Regions from separate parts of the Homo sapiens genome. Here region 1 is linked to region 2. The links are contacts of gene promoters, found by promoter capture Hi-C in human tissues and cell types (Jung and others, 2019). All regions are on one chromosome and are shown on one strand. Each heading gives the region's core, a stretch centred on a gene start or on the middle of the fragment in contact. The rest is flanking DNA. Distances are from core to core; before and after follow the strand shown.

Region 1 (4,339 bases), core at 1,592-4,091, 180 kb after region 2:
AGCCACTGTGCCTGGCATAACCTTTACTTTAAACAATTTTATATATATATATTTTTTACAATTTTATTTATTTGTCTGTCTATTTATTTTGAGACAGAGTCTTGCTCTGTCACACAGGCCAGAGTGCAGTGGCACAATCACAGCTCACTGCAGCTCCGACCTCCCAGGCTCCAGCAATACACCCACCTCAGCCTCCTGAACAGCTGGGACTGGACTATAGGTTTGCACCACCATGCCTGGCTAATTTTTGTATTTTGGGTAGAGATGGGGTTTCACCATGTTGCCCAGGCTGGTCTTGAATTCCTGAGCTCAAGCAATCCACCCACCTTGGCCTCAAAGTGCTGGGATTACAGGTTTGAGCCACCATACCCGGCCTTATATGGTTTTTTTCTTTTTTTTTTTTTTTTTTTGAGATGGAGTCTTGCTCTGTCGCCCAGCCTGGAGTGCAGTGGTGCAATCTCAGCTCACTGCAAGCTCCGCCTCCCAGGTTCACGCCATTCTCCTGCCTCAGCCTTCCGAGTAGCTGGGACTACAGGCACCCGCCACCACACCCGGCTAATTTTTTTTGTATTTTTAGTAGAGACGGGGTTTCACCACATTAGCCAGGATGGTCTCGATCTCTTGACCTCATGATCTGCCTGCCTCGGCCTCCCAAAGTGCTGGGATTATAGGCGTGGGCCACCGTGCCCAGCCTGACCTTATGTTTTAAAATAAATTAAAAGAAGAAAAGAAAAATACATTTCTGGGGCTCTTCATTTCTTCCTGTGGATTTGAGTTTCTGTCTACTGTCATTTTCAGTGTGAGGGGTTTCCTTGAGTATTCCCTGCGTTTAGGTATATGCTAGTCAGGAATTCTCTTTTTGTTTATCTGGGAATGATTTTCTTTTGCCTTTTGTTTTGAAGTATAGTTTTGTTGAATATAGAATTATCAGTTGACAGTTTTATTTTTCTTTCAGTGTTTTGAATAAATCATTCATCTGCCTTCTGGCCTCCATTGTTCCTAGGAGAATCTAGCCATTAATTCTATTGTTCCCCTGTACATAATGAGCTGTTTTTCACTTGCTCCTTTAAAATTTTCCATTTTCCTGGCACGGTGGCTCACGCCTGTAATCCCAGCACTTTGGGAGGCCAAGGAGGGTGGATCACGAGGTCAGGAGATCGAGAACATCCTGGCTAACACGGTGAAACCCCGTCTCTACTAAAAATACAGAAAATTAGCCAGGCGTGGTGGTGGGTGCCTGTAGTCCCAGCTACTCGGGAGGCTGAGGCAGGAGAATGGTGTGAACCCGGGAGATGGAGCTTATAGTGAGCCGAGATTGTGCCACTGCACTCCAGCCTGGGCGACAGAGTGAGACTCTGCCTCAAAAAAAAAAAAAAATGCCCTTTTTGAATTGTTTTCAGCAGTTTTACTTTCACTCGCGTCCGTGTGAAGAGACCACCAAACAGGCTTTGTGTAAGCAATAAAACTGTTTATTTCACCTGGGTGCAGGCGGGCTGAGTCTGAAAAGAGTCAGCGAAGGGAGATAAGGGCGGGGCTGTTTTTATAGGATTTGGGTAGATAAAGGAAAATTATAGTCAAAGGGGGGTTCTCTGGAGGGCAGAGTGGGGGTCACAAGATGCTCAGTAGGGGAGCTTTTGAACCAGGATGAGCCAGGAGAAGGAATTTGACAAGACAATGTCATCAGTTAAGGCAAGAACAGGCCATTTTCACTTCTTTTGTGGTGGAATGTCATCAGTTAAGGCAGGAACCGGCCATCTAGATGTGTACGTGCAGGTCACAGGGGATATGATGGCTTAGCTTGGGCTCAGAGGCCTGACATTCCTGTCTTCTTATATTAAGAAAAATAAAATGAAATAGTAGTAAAGTGTTGGGACAGTGAAAATTTTTGGGGGTGGTATGGAGAGATAATGGGTGATGTTTCTTAGGGCTGCTTCCAGCGGTATTAGGGGCGGCGTGGGAACTTAGAGTGGGAGAGATTAAGCTGAAGGAAGATTTTGTGGTAAAGGGTGATATTGTGGGGTTGTTAGAAGAAACATTTGTCGTGTAGAATGATTGGTGATGGCCTGGATACGGTTTTGTATGAATTGAAAAACTAAACGGAATAAGAGAAGGAGAAAAACAGGTATTAAAGGACTAAGAATTGGGAGGACCTAGGACATCTAATTAGAGAGTGCCTAAGGAGGTTCAGCATAGCCTTGCCAGCAAAGATTATTTATTTACTTCAAGAGTTAAGAGTGGCAGTTTGGGGATAGCACGAGGAGATATCAGCTGTGATGGCTTGGAGAAACTGTGTAAACTGGCAGTGTAAACAAGAGCAGGGCATGCATGAGTAGTTGAGAACGGTGAATAGGAGTATGACTAGACAGAAGATAGTAGGGATGACAAGTTATTTGGGGGCACAGTCTAAGTTGGTCTGGTGTCTGGAATGAGACTGGGGCCTAATAAAAAGGAGTGTCTATACAGGAACTTAAATGGGCTGTATCTTGTAGCATTCTGAGGACAGGCCTGAATTCTGAGAAGCGAAAGTGGTAAAAATATTGTCCAGTCCTTTTTAAGTTGGTGGCTGAGGTTGGTGAGGTGTGTTTTAGTCTGTCACTGAATACTAAGAGCCTGAAAAAATGCTTGGCTGATTTGACAAATAAAGGCTGGTCTGTTATCAGACTGTATAGAGGTGGGAAGGCTAAATTGAGGAATTACGTCTGACAGAAGGGAATGATAAGGCTAAACTGAAGAATTATGTCTGACAGAAGGGAAGAAATGACTGTGGTGGCCTTCTCAGACCCTGTAGGAAAGGACTCTACTTATCCAGTGAAAGTGTCTACCTAGACTAAGAGGTGTTTTAGTTATCTTACTCGGGGCATGTTGAGTAAAGCTAATTTGCCAGTCCTGGGTGGGGGCAAATCCTCGAGTTGATGTGTAGGGAAGGGAGGGGGCTTGAATAATCCATGAGGAGTAGTAGAATAGCAGATGGAACACTGAGAATTTATTTCTTTGAAGATAGATTTCCACAATGGAAAGGAAGTGAGAGGTTCTAAGAGGCAGGCTAGTGGCTTGTACTATAGCATAGCCTGCCTTTGCTGGTGTGTGGCGATTAGGCCTGGTGGAACTGCCATCAATAAATCAAGCGTGATCAGGGTGAGGAACAGGGAAGAAGGAAATGTGGGGAAATGGGATGAATGTCAGGTGGATCAGAGAGATGCCGTCATGGGGGTCAGGTGTGGTATCTGGAATAATGTGGGAGGCCGGATTGAAGTCCGGGCCAGGAACAATGGTCATTGTGGGACTTAACAAAGAGTGAGTACAGCTGAAGGAGCCAGGGAGCAGAAAGTATATGCGTCAGGTGTGAGGAAGAAAATAGATTTTGGAAATTATGAGAGCTGTAGAGAGTGAGTTGAGCATAGTTTGTGATTTTGAGGGCCTCTAAAAGTGTTAAAGCAGCGGCACGCGCTGCACGGAGACATGAGGGCTAGGCTAAAACAGTAAGGTCAAGTTGTTTGGGCAGAAAGGCTACAGGGTGCGGGCCTGGCTCTTGTGTAATAATTCTGACCGAACTAACCATGCCTAGGAAGGAAAGGAGTTGTTGTTTTGTAAGGGATCGAGGTTTGGGAGATTAATCGGACACAAGCAGCAGGGAGAGCACGTGTGTTTTTATGAGAATTATGCCAAGATAGGTAACAGATGAGGATGAAATTTGGGCTTGACTGAAGTAATGGGGTCTGTCTGTGAAGCCTTGAGGCAGTACAGCCCAGGTAATTTGCTGAGCCTGATTGGTGTCAGGGTCAGTCCAAGTGAAAGCAAAGAGAGGCTGGGATGACAGGTGCAAAGGAATAGGAAAGAAAGCATGTTTGAGGTCCAGAACAGAATAATGGATTGTGGAGGGAGGTACTGAGGATAGGAGAGTATATGGGTTTGGCACCACAGGGTGGATAGGCAAAACAATTTGGTTGATAAGGCGCAGATCCTGAATTAACCTGTAAGTCTTGTCTGGTTTTAGGACAGGTAAAATGGGGGAATTGTAAGGAGAGTTTATAGGCTTTAAAAGGCCATGCTGTAACAGGCGAGTGATAACAGGCTTTAATCCTTTCAAAGCATGCTGTGGGATGGGATATTGGCATTGAGCGGGGTAAGGGTGATTAGATTTTAATGAGATGGTAAGGGGTGCATGATTGGTCGCCAAGGAGGGAGTAGAGGTATCTTATACCTTTGGGTTAAGGTGGGGGGATACAAGAGGAGGATGCAAAGGAGGCTTTGGATTGGGAAGAAGGGCGGCAATGAGATGCAGCTGTAATCCAGGAATAGTCAGGGAAGCAGATAATTTGAAGTGTCTCGGCCTAATTAG
Region 2 (4,563 bases), core at 1,774-4,273:
GATCTCTTGAGGCCAAGAGTTCGAGACCAGCCTGGACAACAAAGCCAGATTCCCACTCTAAAAAAATGGAAAAGTTAGCCAGGTGTGGTGGCACACACCTGTGGTCCTGACTACTCAGGAGGCTGAGGCGGGAGGATCTATTGAGCTCAGGAGGTCAAGGCTGAAGTAAGCTTTGATCATAGAACCGCACTCCAGCCTGGACAACACAGTGAGACTCTGTCTCTCTCTCTACACAAACACACACAAACACACACACACACACACACACACACACACACGTATAAAATAAAAGAACAGCTCCCGGGTGTGGAGCAGCACACCCCATTGAATCCTTTCCACACCCCTTCCACATCAACATTACAATTACTGCCATTTTCCAGCTGTCCATGCTTGAGGGCAGAGTTTATGTGCCCAGAACCCATGGCCTGCAGGAAGAAGACCTGGGCCTCTGTGCCACCTACCTGACTCCTAAGCTTAAAATACAGTAGCCCTCTGCCAGGCGTGGTGGCTCACGCCTGTAATCCCAGCACTTTGGGAGGCCAAGGTGGGCAGATCACCCGAGCTCAGGAGTTTGAGACCAGCCTGGCCAACATGGTGAAACGCTGTCTCTACTAAAAATACAAAAATTAGCCAGGCCTGGTGGTGTGTGCCTACAATCCCAGCTACTCGGGAGGCTGAGGCAGGAGAATCATATGAACCCGGGGGGCAGAGGTTGCAGTGAGCTGAGATCAGGCCACTGCACTCCAGCCTGGGCAACAGAGTGAGACTTTGTCTAAAAAAAAAAAAAAGAGCCCTCCGTGCGTGTTATGCACATAGAGCATCGAATTTAATCTTCACCAAACCAAACAAAGGAGATACCACCAATGGAGCTATTTTCTGGAGGAAACTGAAGCTCAGAGATGTCCACTGCCACAGCCACACAGAGGGCAAATACTCCACAAGGGGATTTACATCACAAGCGCCAGGGTCTGTTTATTAAAACCCCTTCCCAGCAGAGGGCAGTACAGTGTCTTGTCCCAGCAGAAAAGGTCCTTCAGGCCACCCCTCTAAACACAGGAGCCAAGGGTGTTGACAGAGGGGCACCCTTTGCACCCCCAGGACTCCTATGGCTTAATAGTGGTCCTGATGGAAGAGGCGGAGCCAGGACTTGAATCCATGAGTGGCTGCCTCTAGAGGCGCAAAGGCCAGCATCGGAGGACCCTGTGGCAGCCAGGAGCGGAAGGTTCATGTTCTGCAGGGGCGCCCAGCCCACTGTGCCCCCAGCCGTCACTTCTTCTGCACGTGGCCACAGTCGTACTTGCCACGCACAACGGTGAGCTTGACGCCTGGCAGGTCCTGGGTGCGGCCGCCCTCCACAAGGACAATCTGGTGCTCCTGCAGGGTGTGGCCCTCCCCAGGGATGAAGCAGACGGCCTCGCGGCCAGTGCTGAGCCGCACTCGACAGCACTTGCGATTGGCTGAGTTGGGCTTCTTCGGCTTGCGGGTAAACGTGCACAGGACCACACCCTTCAGCTGCGGCCGGCCTTCCGTGGGGCCCAGCTTCCGAGGCGGCCGCTTGGGGGGCCCCAGGCGGTGCATCTGGTTCAGGGTAGCCATGGAGCAGGTAGCCCAGAGCCGGGGAACCAGAGCTGGGCCTGGAGAGGGCCGAAAGGGGTTATTATCCCAGAGAACAGATCTTAGAGTAGTAGCAACTCAATTTTGGTGTTTTAGGCATTGTTTAAAGCACTTTACAAAGATGCATTTGTTCACATCTAATGTTATCTACAGACAAAAGTAACTCTTTATTCTTCAAGGAAGCATTACCTTTTTTTTTTTTTTCTTTTTTTTTTTTGAGACAAAGTCTCACTCTGTCGCCCAGGCTGGAGTGCAGTACCTCAATCTTGGCCCACTGCAACCTCTGCCTCCTGGGTTCAAGCAATTCTCCTGTCTCAGCCTCCTGAGCAGCTGGGACTACAGGCACCCACCACCACGCTCGGCTAATCTTCGTATTTTTAAGTAGAGACGGGGTTTCACCATGTTGGTCAGGCTGGTCTCGAACTCCTGACCTCGGCCTCTCAAAGTGCTGGGATTACAGGCGTGAGCCACCACGGCTGGCCAGGAAGCATTATTTTTAATGCTGTTTAAAATAATAGTAGGCTCAGTGGCTCATGCATGTAATCCTAGCACTTTTGGAGGCTGTGGAGGGTCACTTGAGCTCAGGAGTTAAGGCCAGACTGGGCGACACAGGGAGACCTCCCTCTCTACAAAGAATCAAAAAGTTAGCTGGTTGTGGTTCTGCAGGCCTGTGGTCCCAGCTACTTGGGAGGCTGAGGCGGGAGGATCACTTGAGCCCAGGAGGTCGAGACTGCAGTGAGCTGTGATCACACCGCTGCACTTCAGCCTGGGCGACAGAGGGAGATCTTAAATAAATAAATAATAAAACTGACCCAAACGCCGCTTGACACGCAGTAGCCCTCCATGCAGCTGCTTCCCACCTCTTGCTCTAGCAGCCCTAGCTCTGCCAAAACCCCACCGTGTTTTTCCACCCCCGTTTCCCTCGGGGCTCCGACGGAGGCACACAAGTCCAAGAGCGAATAACCCTCCCCCTCTAGCCTCGTCCCTGAAGCCCAAGTCCCCCACTTACCACAAGTTAGGGACGTGTTGAGGCCATGGAGAAGGCCAGACCAGGACATCCTGCCACCTGGGCCGTCCCTGTGGTAGGGGATAAGAGACTCAGAAAGGAGGAAAAAGTGACCGATCCGCAAATGCTCCCCGATCCGCTCTCAGGACTTTCTGGCTTAAATCAAAGGAAATACCTCTATAGGTCTAACCACAGGCCCTCATGCTGCTAACAGAAAGTCCCTCCGTAAATTTAGCCTCGCTCTGAGTGGGTTCCCGAGGGCCCAACCACTCTCGCCCGCACGCAGGAAGAACTGGGAAACTGGGGAGATGGCCTGGTAGATTTGGAGGACCCCAGGATTCCACCGACCTCACAGGACCTAAAGGTGAGGTCGCGGACACGCTGAATCCAGCTTCTAGCCTCTTCCGGGCGCTATCCGTGCAGGGATTGGCTGGTTCTGCCTCGCGTCACTGAAGAGGCGGGACACAGACGACGATTGGGCGACGAAGGACTCTATCGCGGTCAACTTTCCTCAGGATCTGATTGGCTCGTCACGGTCAGGTTCGCTGCCTTGCAATTGGTCTAAACGCGGAGTGGGCGGGACGAAGTGCCGCCTTGTTCCCGGTCCAAGATGGCTGCGTCCATGGCGCGGCGCTTGTGGCCTTTGCTGACTCGTCGGGGGTTCCGGCCCCGGGGAGGCTGCATCTCCAACGATAGTCCAAGGAGAAGTTTCACTACAGAGAAACGAAACCGGAACCTCCTGTACGAGTATGCGCGCGAGGGCTACAGCGCACTCCCTCAGCTGGACATAGAGCGGTTCTGCGCATGCCCAGAAGAGGCCGCACACGCCCTGGAGCTCCGCAAGGGGGAGCTGCGCTCGGCGGACCTGCCCGCGATCGTGAGTGCGCCTGCGCCGGCCGGGGGGCGCAGACGTTTGCTTTACGGAAGAATTGGGTTTGCAAGATGCCCTCCGGCAGGGGGCGAACCTGTAGTAGGAATTTTAGTTATTTCCCAAGTTAGCCAACGTCTTGTGCATGGCACCCACTTATGTGCCAGTTGTCCAGTGAGTGCTGAGGCCCTACTATGTGCCAAGAATGCCTACTGTGTCCTGGACACCCATTATGCGCTTGTTTCATACTGCTCGCTGGGTACCTCCTGTCCTTTAGGAACTTGCTATGTGACATTGCCCTCCGTGCTGCAACCTCATGCCAGCCTTTCCCTAAGACCACAAAGGAAAATGGGGAGCCAAGTGTGAATCGGACGGGGTCAGGGCTGGGGTGTGGTGGAGCTCTTGCGTTTAGAGAGAGAGGTAGGGAGAGTTGTGCACCTCCGCCACACATAGCAGGCAGTTAAATAGAGTTAATGAATGAATGAATGAATCCATTAATGAATGGTTCTATTAAACTGATACTTAAGGTGCAACTGCTATATTCCGGTGTTCTAGATGTTGCAAATATGCGGTGAATAATAATAAAATTGCTAGCACTTATAAAAGGGAATTAGGACCGGGTTCACAATATCTCTGTGTTGAGGTGCTAACGATAGTGGGGTCCCCACGTCTTCCCATTCCTCTCTTGGACTCCCCTCCCAGCCTGTTTGAAGTGCTTTATTCACTTTAACCTCGTTTAATTTTCACAGCAACTCTATGAAGTAGGTGCCATTATTTCTCCCATTTTATCAGAGGGGAAACTAAGGCTTCGAGAAGCTAATTCACTTGCGCTAGGTCATGCAACTGGGAAGTGGCAGAGTGGGAATTTTAACCTGTGCTTTCTGGCCTAGAATCCACTTTTTTTTTTTTTTTTTTTGAGATAGGGTGTTGTTCTGTCGCCCAGGATGGCAGGATGGAGTACAGTGGTACAATTATAGCTCACTGGAACCTTGAATTCCTGAGCTCAAATAATCCTCCCACTCAGCCTCCCGTGTAGCTGGGACTACAGGCAGACACCACCACGCCCGGCTAAACT

What was found. The method cuts DNA at HindIII sites, captures the fragments that hold promoters and counts their contacts. A contact is called where the count stands out against the background at its distance.
Region 1: a fragment that was not itself captured here is called in contact with the fragment with the promoter of MRPS12 in region 2 in 6 of the 25 tissues and cell types used here (H1 embryonic stem cells, dorsolateral prefrontal cortex, heart right ventricle and 3 more).

Annotation. Positions count from the first base shown.
Region 1 is chr19:38,752,368-38,756,706 of GRCh38, reverse strand. No RefSeq gene overlaps it. Among named protein-coding and RNA genes, the nearest start is that of CAPN12, 10 kb to the right of the region's middle. The HindIII fragment of the contact is 9,984 bases long and covers 1-4,339 here.
Region 2 is chr19:38,929,404-38,933,966 of GRCh38, reverse strand. It overlaps MRPS12 (mitochondrial ribosomal protein S12), which reads right to left and starts at 3,023. Exons shown (of 3, transcript NM_033362.4): 1 at 2,969-3,023; 2 at 2,624-2,691; 3 at 799-1,634. The coding sequence starts at 2,672. The coding sequence ends at 1,267. It overlaps SARS2 (seryl-tRNA synthetase 2, mitochondrial), which reads left to right and starts at 3,204. Exons shown (of 16, transcript NM_017827.4): 1 at 3,204-3,497. The coding sequence starts at 3,231. RefSeq lists an enhancer at 3,120-3,579. The HindIII fragment of the contact is 13,053 bases long and covers 1-4,563 here.